3 separate regions of the Homo sapiens genome follow, and all the other regions are linked to region 1. Evidence: promoter capture Hi-C in 16 types of primary human blood cells and fetal thymus (Javierre and others, 2016). All regions are on one chromosome and are shown on one strand. Each heading gives the region's core, a stretch centred on a gene start or on the middle of the fragment in contact. The rest is flanking DNA. Distances are from core to core; before and after follow the strand shown.

Region 1 (3,227 bases), core at 353-2,852:
ATTAACAATGATCTGTTCAAATCCTGGGTCCAGATACTTACTGGTTGTGTGAACTTGGGATAATCACCCACATTTTCTGTGCCTCAGACTCTTCAGCTACAAAATGAGGGTGCTAATAGAACTTACCTCATAGAGTTATGAAGATTAAAAGAAGTTGTTTTATTTAAGAAGTTTCTTAAATAAAATAAATACGGATAAAAACAGTGCCTGGCACATAGTTTTGCTATTTAAGTGTTACATATTAATATTCCAGTTCCTTTGCGGACAGAAAGGGGAAGGAGGGCAAGGTTAAATTTATAGCAAAGTAATAAAGTAAAATATACAACAAAATAATAAGTAAAAGAAATTAAATGACAAAAAAGACACTGTGACAACTGTTGTCATGGAATGTTAACTGCACATTAAGTGCATAATTGTTTCGTTTAATCCTCCCCATACCTCTTTTGAGGTAGGTAATATCCCATTTTACAGATAAGAACATTGAGACTCAAAGATTCCAATCCAGAACAAGGCTCTATTGTCACTGATACTTTTTTGTTAAAGTAGAAAAACAATAGATTATAATTTGATATGCTTCTACAGGCGATCAACAAAACACTGTCATCCTGCTTAGAAATTATTTTCAATTTGTGAGTCAAATTCAAGCTTCCATTATAAGGTCTTGAGAATTACACAGTGGTCTGAGTATCACAAGTTATACTTGATCACTTTCAAACTTACCAGTCTATCACAGGCCACAACTATACAAAGGAAACGAGTAGTGGTGGGTAGCAGTTTAGTTACAGTGAGTAGCAACGTTATTACTTTTTAAAATTCTAATGCTGTAAAATCCCAAATACCTTTGTATTCACAATTCAACCTTCCCACTCATCTGCTATTAACTTTTTTGCAACACCACATAACACAACTAGCCCGTTACTACACGCGCTTACCCTCCCACTGTGATCGGTCCTGATTTCATTGTGTACTGTCTCAAACTGCTCAGTGGGTTCTGATTGCTTCCACCCCTCGTCCCTTTAGCTCCTGGCAGGCAGTGAACTAGTCTTCAAGTTACTCAGCACCTTCCTCAGAATCCAGCACCGCGCTGGCCCATAATTAGCAGGTGCTCAAGGTATCGCCTAATTACCCAGGGAACCATGGAGTTGAATAGTGAGTGAGAAAGACGAATGCTCTCCCTTTTATGTACAGAGAAGGTAGTTACGTGATGCTTGGAGTTAAGCAAGTGCAGAAAGTAACATGCCGAGACAGGAGTAGGTGAGAGGGCTTTAAAGGCGGGAAGGGGCGGCGAAGAGCCGAGGTACGTGGCGACCCAGAGGAGAGGGGCCCGGAGGCTGCCGGCGGAAACCAGGCCGCCGAGGGTCCCGACGGGGAGGTGGGGTGCGGGCACTGAGGCTGGGACCTCCGCCCAGGTCAGGGACACGCGGCCGGGCTGAGGCCGCCGCCTCACCTTTGCAGTTGAAGCCGGCGGGGTTGTGGTAGTCGAGAGCCGTCAACTTGCGTCGGAACATGGTCCCCGCTTCTCGCTCTGGTCCCCCGGGCCTCGGCCGGGAGAGAAGAAGCGAGGTGGAGCGGGAGGCGCAGGCACCGGCGACGCGGCGAGAGGGCGGGCAGGCGCTGAGTCGCTCCGAAATGACGGCGGCCTTCGCCAATCGTGGCTTAAAAGCGGTGGCCGCCGGCAAATGCCCACCAATCGCGGCTCCGGCTGGGGAGGCGGGGCCACGTCGGCGCACGTCGACGCTCAAATAAACTTTATTGTCAGCTTCCTGGTTGTACAATAGGCAGAAAACCACCGGGAAGCCACTTTCCTTTCTTTCTTGCTATAGCATGCAGAGAATAGTATATGTAGGCTTTTGGTATTCGCTGTACCTCCCGTTGGATTACAGAATTACTGTTTAGTGTTTTGAGTGCATTCATTCATTTTATTACTCCTCCTACATAACAGGTGCTCTTCTAACACTGGTAATACAAAGACTACAAAGCAAGGTCCCTATAGTAAGATGCTTTCAGACTAATTGGGAGTGATCCACAGGTAAACATACAATTGTTAATACGATGCGATCGTTCCAGATATCCTCAGCCAGAGTGAAATCTGAAGCCGAGATCGTCCCTCACTCCCCCTCACCCTCGGTCACAGCATCCAGTAGGTCACCAATTCCTGCCATTCTGTCTCTCCTAACTCTCAAATCCCTCACCTCCTTTCGGACCCCACTGATACAGCCACAGATCAGATCCTCATCACTTTTGCTTACTCTAATTATCTGATTGATTTCTTAGGGCCAGTCCTGCGTTCTCCAAACCATTCCTCCATACAGCGATGAGAGAGATTTTTCTAAAGCAAAAACCTGTACATAACTTTCTCTGCTTATGTTTTAGTGGTTCCTGGTTACCCCCTAGAAATAATCAAAACTCCTTATTGTATTTAAGATCTTTCCTGATCCAGTCTCTACTTGCTTTTCAGACAGTGGAGAGAGAGCAGTGAACAAGACAGACCAGGCCCCTATTTTCATGGAGTTTAAAAGGCTAATGAGGGAAACAATAAACAGATAAGTATAAACTAAGGCTTGAAGATGGTGAGGCATTCACCATGCAGTCAAAAGGGTAACCTAGTTTGAGGGAAGAGGATGTATAAAGGCAAGAAATGAGCAACAGCATGGCCCAGAGGGACTAGAGCTTATAGGGGCTGGAGGGTGAGAGGGAATGACAGCTGATAAGACTATAGACAAAGGCAGGGCTCTGATAAGGAAAAGCCTCTCATGGCAAGCTAAGGGGAGCTATTGAAATTCTTGGGGGTAAGCCAACTATGTACGTTTCATTTCATTTCATTAATTAAGATTTTAATTAAACACTTAGGATCTGAGGAGCATACAAATGAGTAAACTACAGTCTCTATTTTCAGGAAGTTTAAGTATAATGACAAATATAGATGTGTAAATAAATACTTATAATCTGGAGTTAGAAAGAGTAAGTGAATTACAAGAAATATAAAATGTACTACAAAGAAGTACAGGCCAGGTGCAGAAGCTCATGCCTGTAGTCCCAGCACTTTGGGAGGCTGAGGTGGGAGGATAGTTCAAGCCCAGGAGTTTGAGACCAGCCTAGGCAACATAGTGAGACTTTGTCTCTATTAAAACTAAAAAAAAAAAAAAAAGAAGAAAGAAAAATTAGCCTGGCATGCTCGTGTGTGCCTGTGGACCCAGCTACTCAGGAGGCTGAGGTGGGAGGATCAC
Region 2 (3,196 bases), core at 582-3,081, 300 kb before region 1:
CATTAGGATTTCCACACTAGGCAAAATTTTGCCATGTAGTGTCACAAAGTCAAGAACCTAATAGATTCAGATAATGAAACTCTTGAAATTCAATAAGCAAAAGACAGATAACTGAATAGAAAAGTGGAGAAAAGACCTGGACAGATCCTTCACAGACAGGGATATGCAAAGGACAATAAACATAGGAAAAGGTGTGGATCAGGGATATGCACATTAAAGCCACAATGTGATACCACTCGATACCCCCAGAACGGCTAAACCGAACTAGAAAGACAATAGGAAGTATTGATGAGCATGTGGATCAACTCGGCCTTTATACATTGCTGTGGAAGTATGAACTGACACAATCCACTTTGGAAGACCCCTTGGCAGTATTTACTAAGGGCAAAACTTATGACCTAGCAATTACATTCAGTTATATCCTTAATAGAAATGCATATGTATGTTCCCAAAAGATGTGTGAAAGGATGCTTATTACTTTTTTTTTTTTTCTTTGAGACAGAGTTTCGCTCTTGTTGCCCAGGCTGGAGTTCAGTAGCGTGATCTTAGCTCACTGCAACCTCCGCTTCCCGAGTTCAAGCGATTCTCTTGCCTCAGCCTCCTGAGTAGCTGGGATTACAGGTGCCTGCCACCACACCTGGCTAACTTTATTTTTTTGTATTTTTAGTAGAGACGGGTTTTCACCATGTTGGCCAGGCTGTTCTCAAACTCCTGACCTCAGGTGATCCACCCACCTTGGCCTCCCAAAATGCTGGGATTACAGGCATGGGCCAGTGCGCCCGGCTGCTTATTACTATTTGTAATAGGTTCAATTAGAAATAACTCAAATGTCCATCTGCAATAGATAGATTAATATATTGTGGTAAATTCATACGGTGGAATTCGTACAGTAGAACACTACAGCAAAGAGAATAAACAAAATATAACTCTGAACAACACGGACGGATTTCACAAGCATACTGCTGAGTGAAAGAAAACAAGTACATACTGATTCCATTTATATAAAGTTCAAAAGTGGACAAAATTCATGTATTAGAACTCAAGGTGGTTTCCTCTTGTGGGTGAAGTCAGTAGCTAAAAAAGGGATTTTGGAGGGGTTTGGGATTCTGTGTTTTTTGTTTTTTTTTTTTTTAATCTGGATATTAGTAACTTAGGTGTATTGCTTTGTGAAAATTCATTTCACTGTCTACTTATAATTCGTATATTTCTCTGTATGCATGTTATACTTCAGTAAAATTTTGAAACTTTTATAAAGAGACATTGAAAAGGACATAAATAAATTGAAAAGTATACAAAATTAATCAATAGATTCAGTGCAATTCCAGTGAAAATCCCAGCAGGTTTTGGTGGAACTAAAGCACTAAGATTAAAAGGGCCCCCTTCAAAGAGAGCTAGGTGGAAGCATTAATGTACCTAAGACAACAGGCCAATGGAATAGAAACAAACATACAAATATGGAAACTTCATATGTGACAGATATGATATTTAAGATCAATGGGGAAAAGATAAACTTTTTGATAAATGATACTTGGACAAGTGGTTATTTATATGGTGAAAGTACAAAACTGGATATTTATATCACACCATACACCAAATAAATCATAGGTGGGTTCAAATTCAAGAGTGAAAGGCAAAACTATAAAGCTTTTATAAAGTAGTATAGAAAAATATTTCATGATTTTAGGTTTAGAAAACATTTCTCAAATAAAACATGAAAAGCTTAGCCATAAAAGAAAAGTTTAAGAAATTAGATTCTAATAAAATAAAAATTTCTATTAATTAAAAGTCATCAAAAAGAGAGTGAAAAGACAGATTAAAGAATGGGAAAAGATTTTTCCAACACATAAAACTGACAAAGTAACAGTAGTTAGGACATCTATAAATCAATATGAAAAACAAACATTATATTTTTTAAAAAGGCAAAAGACTTGAACAGAAGCTTTATAAACTAGAATTTCCAAACAGCCAATAAATGTATGAGAAGGTGTGCAATATCATCATTATTAATATGAAAAATACATTAAAACCTCAATGAAATACCATTACAAACTTACCAAAATGGCTAAAACTAAAAATCTAACAATACAAGTGTTAGCAAAGATGTAGAGCAATGAAAACAATGCTGGTGTTAGTGTAAATTGGAAAACAATTTTTATGATATAATAAAAGGTGCACATATCCTATAACCCTGCAATCCCACTCCTAGATGTATGCCTTAGAGATACTCGTACACATGTCCAACACAAGACATAATAAGAACAGTTAAAACAGCATTGTTTATTTTTCTTTTCTTTTTTTGCCCCTTGAATCATAAAACAGCATTATTTCTAGTAGGCAAATCTAGAAATACCCCAAATGTCCATTGACAGCATGCGATATATTCATACCATGGAATACTATTTGGCCATGAAAATATAGGAACTCAGCTACACGTACAAAAAGTATGAATCTCACAAACATACTATATGGTGAATATCATCCAGATCTCCTTTTCCAAGCCATTGCCCCCAGCCCCTGTGGGTTATGGTTTCTAATGGCTCAGAGCTGGCCCCTTTTCTGGAAAATTGCCCTTGGCTCAAAGGGTACCACCGGGAACACGTGGGCCAAAAACTTAGTAACAGGCTTTCACAAGTGTCTTGGTGGGACCAACAGTGTGGTGCTATTCAAGCTCCAGAGCCCCCCCTTGAGATCAGGCAGAGCTGAGACCTCATCCTTGCCTTGATTCCGTCCCTGCCCTGTCCTGCTGCTTTCACCGCTTTTCTCCCGAAAGCAGGAGCTCCACAGGTCACATGCACCTGACTCTTTGTCCTAGACTGCATGTGAGGAATCCAAGCTAAGACACATTACTAAGCTTGAGAAAAAGACACTGAATACATATATTATGATGCACACATGGGGTAAGATAAAGAAAAGCAAAAGCATGATTTCTTAAAAGTCGGAACAGGGTTTATCTCGGTGAGGGGGAGGGACTGTGATCAGGGAAGGCACACAGGAGGCTTCTGGTACTGGCAGTATTCCGTTTCTTGACCTGCACAATGTCTACATGGATATTTACTTTATAATTACTATTTAACTGCATATGCATGTTGTACACACAATTTAGTATGTATAATGCATACAAAAAGAAGAAAAATTTCCATGTAATCAGAGAGACTTTTTGGTTTTAACTTAAATAAAAATGTATTTCCTAATCGAA
Region 3 (3,055 bases), core at 161-2,660, 490 kb before region 1:
AATACCATCGTATATCCAGTCAGTGTTTGAACTTCTGATTGCACCATGCTCTTACATGCCACTGTGCCTTTGCTCATGCCATTCTCTTTGCTCTTTATGCCACCACTGCCTTTCTTCTCTGCCTACCTGAGTTTTATTTTCCTTTTCATGTTCATGTTTTCATGTTCATAAAGAAGCTTTATCCTTTAATCAAGTTATATGCTCCATCTGTCTTACCGTACAATCTCTACAAACTTCCAACAGAATATTTATGAATCCAAATGTATTTTTGAAGGTACATGGATGGTTGGATGGATGGATGGATGGATGAATCTATCAGTCTATTGATTGGTCTATCTAAAGGAAGGGTTTCACATATTCAGAATCCACTCATAACTTGAGGCTTTTTGGATAAAATCCAGACTTCTTGGCTCATGTGACCTCTTATGATCTAGCCACTGCCTAGCCTAGAGTTTTCTCATGCTGTTTATTCTTTCAGCCCCATCTTGTCTTAGTCAAATTTGCCTTCCCTCAGCCTTGTATGTGCTCAACTCTTTTATGTCTCAGAGCTTTCGTATATGTTATTGTCTTTGTCTAAAACATTCTTTTCTTGATTCTCTACCTGGCAGACTTTGGGCTTCCCAATCTAAATAGCCCTGTTATAATCTCTCAGTGTATCCTTTACCTTTCTTCATAAATTGATCATAATTTATAATTATATATTTATTCAGTGATCAGTTTATCTGACTTTTCCATAGATAGAAGTTCCATGTGGTCAGGACTATGTCTGTTTTGTTTACCAGTTTTCCTAGTGCCTGTCATAATGCTTGGCATATAGTAGAGGCAAAATAAACAAAATGGCACTATTAATATTCTTTGTAGAACAAATTTTAATTTTGAAATTGACTAAAACTTCCCAACTTCTAGGTCAGGAAGCATCTCAGAGTCAGTTAAGCAACTGCAAAGTTTTCTAAATATCATGCATCCTAACTATTAAGATAGGATGAATTCAAAAGTTTGTATAAAGTACTGAATTATTATATGCTTCCTATGAGAAGAGCTTAAATAGTTTTCATTATACATCAATATTTAAATTAATTTCTTTTCCAACATTTTAGATGTTCAGGATGATGAAGTGGCAGAAACTGTTTTCAGAGATAGGAAGAGAAAATTACCTTTGGAACTTACAGTGGAACTAACAGAAGAAACATTTAATGCAACAGTGATGGCTTCTGACAGCATAGTACTCTTCTATGCTGGTTGTGAGTATGAGCCTTTAGAGGACTGTTACATATTAGGACATTTAAAAACCCAGATTTAATTTTTGGCATTCCATGTATTGCATGTTGTAAAATGAAATTGCTTTCGTATGTCTCAAGTAGACTGTGTGCATTGAAGCATTTACTTCTGATTCTGGGATTGTGCAATTGATTTATATCTGATTTACAAATTAAAGGTGAATGATTAAACTAGATGTTCATTAATTTTGAAAAATTGTGACTCACGCTAATGATTTTTAACATATTAACAGTTATTATAGATTTATAGTAAGTATATTGCTTTTATCTTCAAATCATAGCCATTTAGCTATATTCCTTGCAGTACAAGTGCGGAAAATCAGTTGCATTTGAAACTCTCTTAAGTGGTTGGACTATGTTGAGAAATGTATAGTAGAATATTTCTGATTAACAATAATTTTGGGAAACCTCATAAATCTGTATATTTGTTACATATCAGTGTGGATGCTTTGTAGATATACATGTAATATCTGTTGAATTTTTAATTTTCATATAGGGCAAGCAGTATCCATGGCATTTTTGCAATCCTATATTGATGTGGCAGTTAAACTGAAAGGTAGTGTACTGTGCTATGCATGCTTATTATTCTGATTCTAAGCTGTAGCTATTTGTAAAACTATGTCATGCAAAAAATATAGAAAACCACATAAAATTTCAGTTACTATGTTTGTGTCTCCAGGGTTAAGTTAATGAACCAGGAGTTTCAAGAGTGCTTAGGAGCATTCACTTTGATTTGTCTTCATAGAACTGTCTTTAGTAGAAAGTAGAAAGCCTATGTATTTAGTACTTGTGGCTACACAGTTAATACAACAACCTTTTTGGTTTAAGTCAGTCATTCAGCAAGCATTTATGAGTGCCTACTCTGTGCCAGTTACTCCAGTTAAATACTGGAAATAAAAATTTGGCAGATTCAAGACCCAGTCTCATGGTCTAATGAGAGATCAAAAATCCCCGTGTCCTTGAAACTATATAGTTTACTCCTCATGGATGGAATGCTTTTTAATATCCAGGATCTTTTTATGTTAACCATCCTGTGAAACCTCATTTAATAGTGGGCAAATAAAGATCCAAGGAATGGACTTTAACTGAAAATATCTGTGCTACCATCTCAGCAAAGACATAGGGGAAAATGAGGGAGGCCTGTTAGTAAGAGAGGTAATAATGGATTAGGTGTGCTTGATGTAAGTTCCTTATGGTTAGGTAGTGTGCCTTATATCAGCTTACTGGGCTTGGCATATTGCCTTACATTGCAGAATATCTGGTTTTCAATAATTGTTGGATAAATGAATAATAGAGTTTCATAAATTTTGTTTCATTTAGTGGAAACTATGTACTGATGTACAACTTATTTATACATTGAAGCTTTTGAAAACTCAAGAAATTGATTCTAGACACTCAACCCTAAGTGTACCATTCCTTTTTTAAAATTTTTTTTTATTTCCATAGGTTACTGGGGAACAGGTGGTGTTTGGTTACATGAGTAAATTCTTTGGTGGTGATTTGTGAGATATTGGTGCACTCATCACCTGAGCAGTATATACTGTGCTGCACCCAATTTGTGGCCTTGTATTTCTTACCCTATTCCCACCCTTTCCCCTTGAGTCCCCACAGTCCATTTTGTCTTTCTTATGCCCTTGCATCCTCATAGCTTAGCTCCCAAATATGAGTGAGAACATGTGATGGTTGGTTTTTCATTCCTGAGTTAGAATAATAGTCTCCAGTCTCATCCTGGTCACTGCAAATGCCATTAATTCATTCCTTTTTGTGGCTGAGTAGTA

What was found. The method cuts DNA at HindIII sites, captures the fragments that hold promoters and counts their contacts. A CHiCAGO score of 5 or more calls a contact.
Region 2: a contact is called between a fragment that was not itself captured here and the fragment with the promoter of RTRAF in region 1, in 2 of 17 cell types (megakaryocytes and total CD8 T cells). The highest score is 5.4, in megakaryocytes.
Region 3: a fragment that was not itself captured here is called in contact with the fragment with the promoter of RTRAF in region 1 in 3 of 17 cell types (total CD8 T cells, naive CD8 T cells and total CD4 T cells); the score reaches 7.4 in total CD8 T cells.

The regions. Positions count from the first base shown.
Region 1 is chr14:51,987,921-51,991,147 of GRCh38, reverse strand. RTRAF (RNA transcription, translation and transport factor) reads right to left here and starts at 1,602. Exons shown (of 8, transcript NM_016039.3): 1 at 1,448-1,602. The coding sequence starts at 1,508. LOC105370497 (a long non-coding RNA gene) reads left to right here and starts at 564. Exons shown (of 3, transcript XR_007064166.1): 1 at 564-629; 2 at 2,459-3,227. RefSeq lists enhancers at 1,123-1,182, 1,523-1,817. The HindIII fragment of the contact is 14,873 bases long and covers 648-3,227 here.
Region 2 is chr14:52,291,154-52,294,349 of GRCh38, reverse strand. No RefSeq gene overlaps it. Among named protein-coding and RNA genes, the nearest start is that of PTGER2, 22 kb to the left of the region's middle. The HindIII fragment of the contact is 220 bases long and covers 1,722-1,941 here.
Region 3 is chr14:52,481,008-52,484,062 of GRCh38, reverse strand. It overlaps TXNDC16 (thioredoxin domain containing 16), which reads left to right. Exons shown (of 21, transcript NM_020784.3): 13 at 1,098-1,241; 14 at 1,774-1,833. Among named protein-coding and RNA genes, the nearest start is that of TXNDC16, 70 kb to the left of the region's middle. The HindIII fragment of the contact is 2,463 bases long and covers 179-2,641 here.